Regions from separate parts of the Homo sapiens genome. Here regions 2 and 3 are each linked to region 1. The links are contacts of gene promoters, found by promoter capture Hi-C in human tissues and cell types (Jung and others, 2019). All regions are on one chromosome and are shown on one strand. Each heading gives the region's core, a stretch centred on a gene start or on the middle of the fragment in contact. The rest is flanking DNA. Distances are from core to core; before and after follow the strand shown.

Region 1 (4,721 bases), core at 130-2,629:
TCATACTACTGTGCGTCTGTCCTGCCTCTTTTTTAGAAGACAGTCTACTTGATCCTCCTTTTGCCCTTTCTACCATATAGTTTTTGTTTTAATAATATCCACAAATGACTCAGATTTTTTGAACCATGAAACTCTCAAAGTTTAATCAGTGAGCAGAAACGATTTTCTCCCATATTTGGATTTAAGGTAGTCCAATGAAACAGAGAGAAAGTAAAACTGTAAAGAGAAAATCATTTTTTATGATGTTAAGAAGAAAAGAAAATGAAGTGGCAGCTTAAACTTTGGAAAGATCAGACAGAGAGCTTAAGGTGATCTCCAGAAGAAAATTGCTAGTCGAATTTTCTCAGATAAACATTTATGCTTAGTATAGCACTACTGTTAGAGCATCATTATTTTGAGAAGAAAGTTCAAATTGTCTTGCGTTTAGGGGTTTCTATGTCCTACTGCAGACATAATATTAAAAGGTAGGAAAACATATTTGGTTAATACCTAATATAATACAGTTTGGTAAATATAGTTCCCTTGTCTTGTAAATATCTTATTTTGAAATATCAGCCATTTGTATAGGCCCAAGGGTCTTGTGTCATCTTCAGAATTCTAGTTCCTTCAGCCCAGGAATTCAAAGCAGCAAGAATAACACCACAAAATAAGCTCATAAGCTTATTTTAATGCTATAGTGCTGGATACATAAGATAATCATCTGGTGATTTTTATTTTGGCAAAAAATGTTTTTATAAGTGAAGATTATCAGAAAAGTGTCAATGAGTATTTTTTCTGGCTTAAAGAACTCCAATATGTTTTCAGTGCCAAGGAGAAGGACAGCCTTGTGTATTTAATTACTTTAGCTTATTTTGTCCTCTGGCATGATCTGTTCCCTGATTTCACCACAGTAGAGCTTGCTTTGAAGTTGTAGAAAAATTAAATCAATCACTTGGATCACATGTGTCCCAAAGAATGTGGCTTCCCAGGTAAAAGCAATCTTTCAATCCCCTACTCTCGTTTCACTTTGGCATTTCAACAGCGTTGCAGAATTCTTCGGCAGATAATTTATTTTATCCCTTGGTCCCAGCAGCTCTTATTAAGAGTTTCAGAATTGCCTGTACAAGGTGCACCTTTCACATTACAAGGGATCGGCTCATTTCTTGATGCTTATGCAACCACTTATAACTATGCCTACAGGTAAACATACTGCTGTCTTCTTGGAAGACCGAGAAGTATAAAGAATGTTTATGTGCAGGTCTAGCTGTTCCAAGTACCCAAGTGTTGGTTTAGACACACCTGGATTACCATCCACCTTTTATTGGCTGAGAAAGTTGCCACACCTGATTTGTAAGTTTACCTGTTGCAGCCAATAGCAGGGCCATCTCAGCCAGCCAGCACTGGATACTATCTGGCCAGAAGTAGCAAAGCAGCTCTTATTTGAAAAACCACTGGGTTCCGAGTTCATTACTACAGGAAAAACTGTTCTCTTCTGTGGCACAGAGAACCCTGCTTCAAAGCAGAAGTAGCAGTTCCGGAGTCCAGCTGGCTAAAACTCATCCCAGAGGATAATGGCAACCCATGCCTTAGAAATCGCTGGGCTGTTTCTTGGTGGTGTTGGAATGGTGGGCACAGTGGCTGTCACTGTCATGCCTCAGTGGAGAGTGTCGGCCTTCATTGAAAACAACATCGTGGTTTTTGAAAACTTCTGGGAAGGACTGTGGATGAATTGCGTGAGGCAGGCTAACATCAGGATGCAGTGCAAAATCTATGATTCCCTGCTGGCTCTTTCTCCGGACCTACAGGCAGCCAGAGGACTGATGTGTGCTGCTTCCGTGATGTCCTTCTTGGCTTTCATGATGGCCATCCTTGGCATGAAATGCACCAGGTGCACGGGGGACAATGAGAAGGTGAAGGCTCACATTCTGCTGACGGCTGGAATCATCTTCATCATCACGGGCATGGTGGTGCTCATCCCTGTGAGCTGGGTTGCCAATGCCATCATCAGAGATTTCTATAACTCAATAGTGAATGTTGCCCAAAAACGTGAGCTTGGAGAAGCTCTCTACTTAGGATGGACCACGGCACTGGTGCTGATTGTTGGAGGAGCTCTGTTCTGCTGCGTTTTTTGTTGCAACGAAAAGAGCAGTAGCTACAGATACTCGATACCTTCCCATCGCACAACCCAAAAAAGTTATCACACCGGAAAGAAGTCACCGAGCGTCTACTCCAGAAGTCAGTATGTGTAGTTGTGTATGTTTTTTTAACTTTACTATAAAGCCATGCAAATGACAAAAATCTATATTACTTTCTCAAAATGGACCCCAAAGAAACTTTGATTTACTGTTCTTAACTGCCTAATCTTAATTACAGGAACTGTGCATCAGCTATTTATGATTCTATAAGCTATTTCAGCAGAATGAGATATTAAACCCAATGCTTTGATTGTTCTAGAAAGTATAGTAATTTGTTTTCTAAGGTGGTTCAAGCATCTACTCTTTTTATCATTTACTTCAAAATGACATTGCTAAAGACTGCATTATTTTACTACTGTAATTTCTCCACGACATAGCATTATGTACATAGATGAGTGTAACATTTATATCTCACATAGAGACATGCTTATATGGTTTTATTTAAAATGAAATGCCAGTCCATTACACTGAATAAATAGAACTCAACTATTGCTTTTCAGGGAAATCATGGATAGGGTTGAAGAAGGTTACTATTAATTGTTTAAAAACAGCTTAGGGATTAATGTCCTCCATTTATAATGAAGATTAAAATGAAGGCTTTAATCAGCATTGTAAAGGAAATTGAATGGCTTTCTGATATGCTGTTTTTTAGCCTAGGAGTTAGAAATCCTAACTTCTTTATCCTCTTCTCCCAGAGGCTTTTTTTTTCTTGTGTATTAAATTAACATTTTTAAAAAGCAGATATTTTGTCAAGGGGCTTTGCATTCAAACTGCTTTTCCAGGGCTATACTCAGAAGAAAGATAAAAGTGTGATCTAAGAAAAAGTGATGGTTTTAGGAAAGTGAAAATATTTTTGTTTTTGTATTTGAAGAAGAATGATGCATTTTGACAAGAAATCATATATGTATGGATATATTTTAATAAGTATTTGAGTACAGACTTTGAGGTTTCATCAATATAAATAAAAGAGCAGAAAAATATGTCTTGGTTTTCATTTGCTTACCAAAAAAACAACAACAAAAAAAGTTGTCCTTTGAGAACTTCACCTGCTCCTATGTGGGTACCTGAGTCAAAATTGTCATTTTTGTTCTGTGAAAAATAAATTTCCTTCTTGTACCATTTCTGTTTAGTTTTACTAAAATCTGTAAATACTGTATTTTTCTGTTTATTCCAAATTTGATGAAACTGACAATCCAATTTGAAAGTTTGTGTCGACGTCTGTCTAGCTTAAATGAATGTGTTCTATTTGCTTTATACATTTATATTAATAAATTGTACATTTTTCTAATTATTTGACATTCTTTCACAAGTCTCCTTTTGTTTCTGTTTTATTAACTTGTAGAAGAATGTTGAAAAGCCTGATAATTTTTTATTCTCCAAATTGAGAAAGAATGTCAAGATTTGCCTTGTAAAGACAAACAGTGCATTAATTTTTGAAAATATAAAGTACTCTATGTTATTTATGTTATTTAACAACAATATACCTTATAATCATTGGATCCCTATACCAATATTCAATGCAGATAATATATTTATAATTTAAGATAGTACTATAAATTCAAGCAAATCTATATGTTATAAATATTATGTATATAACAGCCAGGTTTGAAAAATTTTCTGTAGCTAAATATATATTTCTACTTCTGAGAAATAATAAATAATATTGTCTAATGTTCTGGGGGCATGTATTACATGCTAGGACCTCTACTGCTTATATGAATTGTTATTAAATCTTTTATGAGACTGATAATGTTATTAGTTCAATTCAAAGATGAGGCTATCTCAGAACAATTCATTGATTACTCAATAGAATCAGGAGATTTATAAAAAGGCTGCCTGGACTCATAGCTCAACACTCTTTCTCTCAAGGAAAGTGAATTATTTTTTCAGCAATGTCTAGTTTAAACACGAATTTTTATATGTTAAAATGACACACTTAACTACCATGAGTTGGGAAAACTTTTAGTTGTCTTTTTTTTTTGTAAATTTTTTTAGTTGAGACAGAGTCTCACTCTGTCACCCAGGCCAGAATGCAGTGGTGCAATCTTGGCTCACTGCAACCTCCACTGCCTGGGTTCAAGCGATTCTCCTGCCTCAGCCTCCTGTGTAGCTGGGATTACAGGCATGTGCCACCACCCCCAGCAATTCCTTTTTTCCATATTGGTGATTCTCTTATACCCAAGTGCTCATTCATCCTAGGCAATTTTGCTTTTTCAGGTCAAAACATTCGTAAAAGGAAAAATACAGCAAAAATAACTGAGCACCTTGGAGAAGAAATCCATAGGCCCCATCTTCTAAATACCAGTCTCTAATCAACTATTTTTTCTTTTACCTAGAAAGCCCTTTAAATGTCCCAAACTCAATTTATTATTTCTCTCCTCTTTTCTCTAAAACAGAATAACACATCTAGTTTTTATTATGGCATCACTTCGAGTATCTGAAATCTTTCTACAACTTTCCACCTTTACTATCTGCTCATCTCTTATCTACATAATTGGAAAAGACTTCTAGACTTGTGTCATTGTCTGCAGAGTCTTTTCCCAACAG
Region 2 (4,938 bases), core at 2,021-4,520, 33 kb after region 1:
ATGTAGATTAGTTTCCTATTGGTGCTGAACAAAGTACCACAAACTTTAAACAATATAAACATATTCTTTTACAGTTCTGGAGGCCGGAAGTCCAAAATGAGTTTTACAGGGCAAGATCAAGGTGTGGTGTTGGCAGGGCTGCACCTCTACTGAGGGCTCCACTCCAGGGAATAACCTGCTTCCTTGCTTTTTCCAGTTTCCATAGGATACCAGCATTCCTTGACTCATGGTCCCTTTCTCCATCTTCAAATTGCATCACTCCAGCCTCTGCTGCTATTGTCATCCTCCTTTTCCTAATGTTGACTTTCTTGTCTCCCTCTTACGTGAATCCTTGTAATTACATTGGACCCATTCAGATAATCCAAGATGATAGCCCTATGTCAAGGTCCTTGAGTTAATCACATCTGCAAAGTCTCTTTTTCTATATTAAGGGGATTCGGATGTGGACATCATTGGGAATGGGGAGAGAACATTGTTCTGTCTAGAATATCCTCTAAGGCTAGGGCTAAGTTTTATTTACTTCTGAAATCAGAGCAGGTAGCTCGTTCAGTAACACTGCTTAGTAAGTAACAACCACGACATTTATATTTGTTGCATATATTTGGGGTTTGGAGAAGTGGAGATTAGCAAGACAAATTAGGAAAATATTTCTCTGCTCTAGAAGAGAAGCTCTCTGTATCCGTCCCTCCAAATCCTATATTCCCGCATTTCTCTTAGAGGCAAAAATCTCTCCCTATTTTTAAAGATACTATTCCACTGTCTTCTGGCTTAATTTTTGCTGTTGAATAGGCAGCTATAATTCTAGTTGTAGTTCCTTTGTAAGCAAACTGTCTTTCTTTCCCTCAACTTGTATTAACATTTTTCTGTCTTGTCATTGATGTTCTGTAGTTTGTCACAACACATCTGGCAAAGAATATATTTTTCTCTGCTTAGAATTAAACATGCTTCCTAATTCTGACAACTTGGGAATTCTAATTTCAGAATCTGACTTTCTGAAAAATTATCATTCATGTTGAATATGACCTTCCCCATTGTATATATTAATTCGAGTTAAATATAACCCCACTTTGGCTGATGCTGGACATTTTCTATCCTCCAGAACACTCAAACTTTTTCTTACCATTCAACTTTATTTTCCATTGTTATGTGTAAATAATTCTTTAAATGTATCTTCCAAATAACGAATTATTTTTTATCTCTTGTAAAAACAATTTTTCAGTTTTTTATTTTAATATTTCTTAAATTTCTACCTGCTTTGTTTTGTTTCAAATACTCCTGCTTATTTGATAAACTCTTGCTACTTGAGTCTATATTTCATTTCATTGTACAGATTTTACTTTACTTACTGTACCCAACGATTTTAATATCAAGTTTTTAGAGGTCTTATTCTGCTGTTTTTTTGCTTGTGTAGTTCACACATATCTTGATATTTCCTTGTATATTTTGGGATTTGTGATTGTGAATCCTGTCTAGTGGTGATCTATCTGTGAGAATTCATTGATTCCCTCAGAGAAATGTTTCGTTTGTTTTTGTTACTTACCTTTGGGCACTATTAACCTAAATTCATTTTAGATTAAAATTCCCAGCCTGCATTTTGTGAACCACGCAAATAGGATTAATCTAGGCCCAAATCTCTATAGGGATAGAATGTCTCAGGCTACCTAATATTAGGCTGAGATAAATTTTCTTTTTTGTCTGACTTAATGGTCAGACAAATTATTCTAGTTTAATATTTCTCCTTAAGATGTTCTTCCTTGAGAATCTTAACTTTATTCTGAGATCTTTAATCTGAATCCAGGCTTACGTCCCAATCCCTGAGCACCAAATACTCTAACTGCAACTGTAGCCCACCAGGGAATGGAAGGTTCTCTGAGGGCATTCATAGATGCTTCTTTGGCTGGTCTCCCCAAAATTATATTTCTTCTTCATTCTTATTCTAGAAAAAGTTACCTTATTTTCTCAAAAACTTCCTAGGCATTAGATAGTATATTTTTTCCTCCAAGAATTTTCAATTTTTTTTTTTTTGAGACAGTTTCACTCTTATCACCCAAGCTGGAGTATAGCCATGTGATCTTGGCTCACTGCAACCTCTGCCTCCCAGGTTCAAGCAATTCTCCTGCCTCAGCCTCCCAAGTAGCTGGAATTACAGGCGCTTGCCACCACACCCAGCTATTTTTTGTAGTTTTTAGTAGAGATGGGGTTTCACCATGTTGGCCAGGCTGGTCCTGAACTCCTGACCTCAGGTGATCCACACACCTCAGCCTCCCAAAATGCCAGGATTACAGGCGTGAGCCACTGCACCCAGCACAAGAATTTTTAATTTTTACATGAAGGAATTTAAAAACTTTTAGGAGGGAATGTTAAATCTTTATATGAGGGAATTTTAGGATATTAGCCTGCCATATCAAGAGAAAGTTGTGAATATCATTTGAAGTGCTGAATTGATATTTTATGCTTAATAGCACAAGAAGATTCTCTAACTAAAATCAAATAGCCATTGACTTAAATTTAACAAAAATATAATAAATATTTCCCAGGTTTTGTGTGTCATCTTAGTATCTTTCTTGTCAAGTAGATAACCGGGTTAAGAAACATAATTGATCTCGATTTTCTATCTTAAAAGCTAATCTCTTTTGCCTAGCTCTTAAGGCTCTCAATGTTTATTCCAACCTCATCCCTTTACTGTGACTCTTACTAGAATGTGTGAAATTAAAATATTCAATAAGTTTCAAATATGACTCTTATGCCAATATATACAATGAACATGTTTTATACATTTTATGTTTAGGAATGCTGATTGCAGAATATTAGAAGAAAGCCATACTGAAATAAGCTTGCTAAATTAAGTCTCTTTAGTGTCCAAAGAACAATAAAACCAGAACTTATCTTTCTACTTTTCACAAAGACAGTAGAAAATCTATAAGTTAGCATGCAACTTTACAACATTTGAGCCCTAACCAATAGTACATACTGAATAAAACAAAGTACAGTCTCCTAAATAATTAAATAATCTTTGGTTGAGTTTATTAGGCAATGTTCCAGTATGACATTGAAAGGATATGTGGGCCTTATTTTGTCTTATTTCTAAGTAGTGCTAGTTTCTTTACTACAAAGTAAAGGCTATGAGAATAAGGAATTTACTCTTATTCACTGTTCTAGGACCACTGCACAGTAGTGTAGGCTGACACATAGTAGGTGCTCAAAAAATATGTTGAAATAATGAAAAAAGAATAAATAAAACAGCTCTATGCCCCATGCCCTTTCTGCATACATTCATCTAAACTAGGGCATCACAGCTCTATCATACCCTTTTATATCAAGTATTGTATAATGTCCTGTTGCTTATTCTGGAATGAAAGTCACAGATGAAACAAAATAATCATTTGGAAATACCAACAGCATGCCCTACTTATAAGGGAAACTTTAAAGGAAAATAATTTATTTAAAAGATATTTTATTATGTGATTGACTAAGAACATCTTCACTGAAAGATATAAAAATTATCAGATGCTTGTTTTTTATGTGAATTCACTCAAAATATGAGAGCTAGAAAGACCGATTGATACAGATATTAGATTTGTGACTCAAATTCCATGGCTACTATTGCCATGGGTGATATGATTTTTTTAAATGTTGAACAACTCTTAGTATAAGTTCAAAACAAATCAAAAGTCAGCCTTCCTGTGATTTACTAGTTTCTGCATTCCTGCAACTTCACTGTGCATTAAAATATTTACTTCGGGTTTTAATCTAAGAGGAGTAGAGTTCTATGTTCATGATCATAAACAAGTTTTTCAGTTATTATCCAAAAGATCATTGGAAAGTTACACAAGTTACACGATAAGGCATCTTTGTGCAGGACTGATGATTTTATGTCTTGTTTATAAAGGAGGACTATTAGGCCTCCATCTATTGAATGCCCAGGAAGTCATCCAATCATTGTGGCAACCAAATTCCACTCTTCTAAACACACACATACACAAACACACACATGCACACACACACACAATTTCAAAATGTTCCTAAGATGGCATATCCCAAGTCCAGGACCAATGATTAAGGCATATACTAATTATTTTTAAATGGCCGGTTTGAACCTTGAACCTTCATTAGTATTTTCCAATGATTTCTGTGGACATTATTCTCTCATTTCTCCACTAATTGACAGATGTTAAGGTCTGTGCATATGGCAAAGCCATTGAAAATATGTACTCTATTGTGTCCTTGTCTGGGTTTCTCTCTCAGACAGCTTCTGTGTTAGTTGGCAGTTCACCTAATCTCTCTCTGTTTCAATTTTCCCATGTACAAAGAGTGAATAAAATTGGTACCTATATCATTGGATTGTTGTAAAGAGAAAATTCATGCCAATTGCAAGGTGGAAAAGGTATCTTAGTATATATTACCTATTTTTCTTATTATCAATTAGTTGATCCCTTAAATACTACGCATCCTGCTTCTTTAGGTAGATGGGCAAACTTCTTCAACACAGGGTATTTGCAGAGAGCTAGATAAACTGTTGATACTTCATAAATATTTATTTGTCAGTTAAGTATATTTAGTTTGAGCCATTGGAAAAGCACAATATTCTTGTAAAAAACACTTGAAAATGTAAGTGCTAGAATTGCCAAGAATACTATCAGTTTGTTCCTGAAGAATTATTATTAATTCAAAGAAGAATGCTCAAAAACAAAAATACAGACATTTTTCTAGTTACTGATTTACAGAATGTTTTTGGCCAAGTCAGTGAGCTACTCTGTATTCTCACTTTTTCCCCACAGCCAAGTGCAGATGTTACACCTGCTCCTTCCCTTTCTCTTGAGAATGATGTAAGGTTAGATAATCTGTATTAAGTCTTTGTTTCTCAGGCCATGGTACAATTATCTGTTCTCTTATTAATATTGTTCTGTCCCATGACATCAGCCATAATAAAGAGTCTTA
Region 3 (4,365 bases), core at 36-2,535, 55 kb before region 1:
CATTAGTCTAAAAAGTACCTAACCAACCTGAATGTGAAGGCACAGTGAAGGTTTTCTCAACCACAGCCATACCGTGGCAGAAAAATTATTATACACAATTCCTGGAAGAGCTGGTCATGTTGGCTTGAGCCTGTAATCTCAGCTAATAGGGAGGCTGAGATGGGAGGATGGCTTCAGGCCAGGAGCTGAAGACCAGCCTGGGCAAAGTAGTAAGACTTCACTTCACCTCTAAAAATAAAAAAGAAAAGAATATAAAAATTAGCTGGGCATGATTATGTCTATAGTCCCAGCTGTTTGGAAAGCTGAGATGAGAGGATCACTTGAGCCCAGGAGTTTGAGGCTGCAGTGAGCTATAATTGCACCCCTCTGCACTCCAGCCCGGGCAACAGAACAAGACTGTCTCTAAAAATAAAAATTCAAAAAATATTCTGGGATACATATTTCCAGGAAGCACACACTGAAACAATAATTTTAGGTGATGATGGTTTAACCAGACACAAAACCAGCCCCAAATCCTTCTCTAATCTAAATTTAGGGCACAATTTTATTCTTCTGATTCCAGTGTAGGCTCACATTCTGTGGTAATCAAAAGCATAAGGGGACCTCAACCCCAGAGTCCCAAGCCCAGAAGTTCTGCTGTTTTCAGTGATTGCAAAACATCATTCCATGCCGTCAACATCTGTTTACCAAGTTATGAAACTTTATTCCATACATGAAACTTGGTGCATATTTATCATTATCTCCATGTAAACAGCTTCAGAAATAGCTATGCAACATATTCTAAAATAAACTGTTAAAGGCAGAGGGTTTTCATGATCACTACCAAATAGGGTTGAGGGTATCAGTGAACAAGGCTGTTAGAAACATCGTGTTGATTTTAGAAGTCTGTGTCCAATCGCAGGGATGCCCTATATATTTTGCTATCCTGAGACAGAACATGGGACCGAGAAAGCAATTTCCCGGATCATTTAAGTCTTTAAAATATAAAACCAATGAATTCTTGCAAGTGAACAGTCCTTCAACTTTTCTACATAAAATCTAAAGGCCATTTGGATAGTTGCCTGGTGGCCTGTGGGACCACATACATATTTGTGGGAAGTAGAGATGATGCCTGTCACTGCAGCCAAGTCAGGCAGATGACTGGAGACAAGAGACAGGGCACAGAGTCGTAAAAGGAGACTGGGCTTGGGAATAGGAGGTTATTCTCTAGTGCTGGTATTGTCACATTTTGTCTCTGGGCCTCAGATTCCCTACCAGAAAAAAAGAAGAGGTTGAATTTAATGAACACTTACACCTCTAAAATATGATGATTCTATCATTCTAGATATAAACTGTGCTTTTTTTTTGTTGTTGTTGTTGTTTTTGTTTTGTTTCTAGATAGAGTTTCACTCTTGTTGCCTAGGCTGGAGTGCAACGGTGCGATCTCGGGTCACCGCAACCTCAGCTTCCTGGGTTCAAGCGATTCTCCTGCCTCAGCCTCCCGAGTAGCTGGGATTACAGGCATGCGCCACCATGCCCAGCTAATTTTGTATTTTTAATAGAGATGGGGTTTCTCCATGTTGGTCAGGCTGGTCTCGAACTCCTGACCTCAGGTGATCCACCTGCCTCAGTCTCCCAAAGTGTTGGGATTACAGACATGAGCCAACACTCCTGGCCCCAACCTCTGTTAAAATTTTTTATGGTGTTTAACTATGCCTTCCTTCCGCATGTTCCCTTCCCAAAGTGTTTATCGAATCCATCCAAGCCCAGGCAATGACTTTTAAAGATACAGGCATATTTTTATTACATGTCACAAATAAGCCATTAAATCAGTAGAGATGCATTTAGTTTTGTTACACCTTAATTACTGAATTGCCAAGAGCTACCAATGGAAGCTTTATACCTAACTTACATATTTCCTCAAGACCCTGTGTTTGGGCTAATGCTAATTTATGTTTCAAAAGAAGAAAAACAGAGGAAGTGCCATAGGAGACCAGAATTTCCTCCATGAGTTAATTTTCGGAAGAGAAGCTGCAAACTGCAGTCATTTTAACTGAGAGACTCCACCCTTCTTGTAAAACACATGTACCTAAGTGTACTAGTAAAATCTGCCTGGACCCCGGGCCAGATCATTAAAGCTTTCAGTAGACACCAGGCCCCATGTCTGATGGAACTGATTTCACAACTAAAGACATTAAATATCATAATCAGGTAATAATAAGGTTCACCTTAACCTTGACCATTTAAACTCTACAATTATTAACCTTTTAAAAGAGTAACACAATAAAAAGTCTGACATATTTTTGCAAGCAACATATTAACTCCAGTTTGGTTGGGCTGGAATCTGACTATTTTCAACAGCTGATGAGAAAGCTTATCAAGTCATATATCCCCTCCTGATATGAAGATCCAGAGATAACATGTGTTTATTTCTACAGCCATAAAATAAAAGGAAAATGCAAACAAAGAAAGGAGAGGCACACTGATAGGTGAGATCATCATAATTAGAAACTCAAGGAATGCTGAAGATCAAAAGTTGATTTTAGCCGGGCACCAGAATATAACCTGATCACAGGGAGAGATAGTGGGCAATGGAAGACTCCACAAATGGATTATCATTAAAAACTACAATCTTTTACAGGCTCAGAAAAAGCAATGAGGATAATTTTTATTTAGTTTTTCAAACTGCTGAGTGAGTTTTATTATAGTTGCTAAATCAGTCTGAAGAATGGAATTTCAACATAAGGCAAGAACAAGCAGTTCTGTTTCCTTTGCCCCGTACCCCCAAACATCCTTTTTCTTTGTCTCATTCTCTCTCGTTATTCTTGTCTGGAGGCAACTTTAGTTGTAAAATAATGTAACTTAGAAACAATTTTAAAGAATGCATAAATAATTTAAGCTTATTTCTCAGAAACCAGTTCATATTGCCGGCTTTTGACCCTTGCCCTAATTGCAAAGATACTGTGCAATAAGTATGATGGTCAAGGGTTTTTGTTTGAGAACTTTCTTCTTTAACATTTTACTTCTAGAAGTGCTACTGAGCACCATCTGTTCACATGACTACTGATTTGATGAGTGGATGATGCTGACATGTTCTAGAACTGACTTGGATATTGAATGTTAGCTGTGGATCCAGAGTGGTTGGAGAAAGCCCATTTGGGAGTTTAACTTTTCCTAAATGTATATGGTATGCCTAGCATTGGGCAACTGCTCAGAGTCCACGCAGGAAAACAGAAACCAGGGCAATATAATATAGAGAATTGGTTAGGCATGTATTAGAGGACTGGAAATGCCAAGATGATGGGGATAGTAATTGCAGGAAGCAGCCTCACCCGTGAGATCTGGGACAAAGGGAAGAAGTCAGGGTTGCTAGAATCCAATAAGTGCTAGGGGAGTGAGACTGATCTCTGAAGAGAGGCACAGTTCAGACGGTGGAACAGGGGGACCCTGTGGAATGGTGAGCCAGACCTCTATGGAGGGGGCACTGCTGTTGGGGTGTGCTGGTCTCTGGTGGGAATTCAATGAGACTAGTTCTTCAAATCAGAAGGTGGGAGGGGGGAACTGGAACCAACTGCCATTGCCACAGTGACATTACAGAAACAGAAAGGCAAAGAAGGAACAGTTCCTTTCTCCTCCTGCCTGTTACTCTCTAGTGCCCCCTGTTGACAGAACATAACAAGTAACGTTTAAAACAGACCATACCTTCATAACCATCACAGACCGCATTTGTTCTTCTGAGCTAACTCTTAGAGTTTATGCTATATACTTGTCATTTTAGGCTACATCTATAAAAATCATAAGTGCATTTAATACGTAGTTGACCAGAAGACTGTTTTTTTTCTTAAAGAAGAAAATATTTTAGGTTTTTGCTTTAATTATGCCTCAAAGGTCCGTGGTATGAGTCACTATCCTATACCTATGTGAGCAAAGAAACTCTTGGGTGAGGTTTAGAATAGGCACACATTGTAATGAATCTCTCTCTAGTGAATTATAATATCATTTCAGTATAAAAGATGCCTATTTCAAAAGCAAGACGGGCCCATTATTAAAAGCAAACTAGGCCCGGCACAGTGGCTCACGCCTGTAATCCCAGCACTTTGGGAAGCTGAGGTGGGTGGATCACCTGAGGTAAGGATTTCGAGACCAGCCTGGCCAACATGATGAAACCCTGACTCTACTGAAAATACAAAAAATTAGCCGGGCCTGGTGGCGGGTGCCTGTAATCTCAGCTACTCGGGAGGCTGAGGCAGAAGAATCGCTTGAACCTGGGAGGCAAAGGTTGCAGTGAGCCAAGATCATGCCACTGCACTCCAGCCTGGGAAACAAGAACAAAACTCCACCTCAAAAAAAAAAAAAAAAAAAGCAAACTAATACACAAATAAAATA

Evidence for each region. The method cuts DNA at HindIII sites, captures the fragments that hold promoters and counts their contacts. A contact is called where the count stands out against the background at its distance.
Region 2: a fragment that was not itself captured here is called in contact with the fragment with the promoter of CLDN8 in region 1 in 4 of the 25 tissues and cell types used here (aorta, mesendoderm cells, ovary and 1 more).
Region 3: a fragment that was not itself captured here is called in contact with the fragment with the promoter of CLDN8 in region 1 in 2 of the 25 tissues and cell types used here (dorsolateral prefrontal cortex and stomach).

What each region holds. Positions count from the first base shown.
Region 1 is chr21:30,212,755-30,217,475 of GRCh38, reverse strand. CLDN8 (claudin 8) reads left to right here and starts at 1,379. Exons shown (of 1, transcript NM_199328.3): 1 at 1,379-3,470. The coding sequence starts at 1,551. The coding sequence ends at 2,228. The HindIII fragment of the contact is 13,225 bases long and covers 1-4,721 here.
Region 2 is chr21:30,181,637-30,186,574 of GRCh38, reverse strand. No RefSeq gene overlaps it. Among named protein-coding and RNA genes, the nearest start is that of CLDN17, 17 kb to the right of the region's middle. The HindIII fragment of the contact is 5,375 bases long and covers 583-4,938 here.
Region 3 is chr21:30,268,048-30,272,412 of GRCh38, reverse strand. No RefSeq gene overlaps it. Among named protein-coding and RNA genes, the nearest start is that of KRTAP24-1, 13 kb to the left of the region's middle. The HindIII fragment of the contact is 6,683 bases long and covers 1-4,365 here.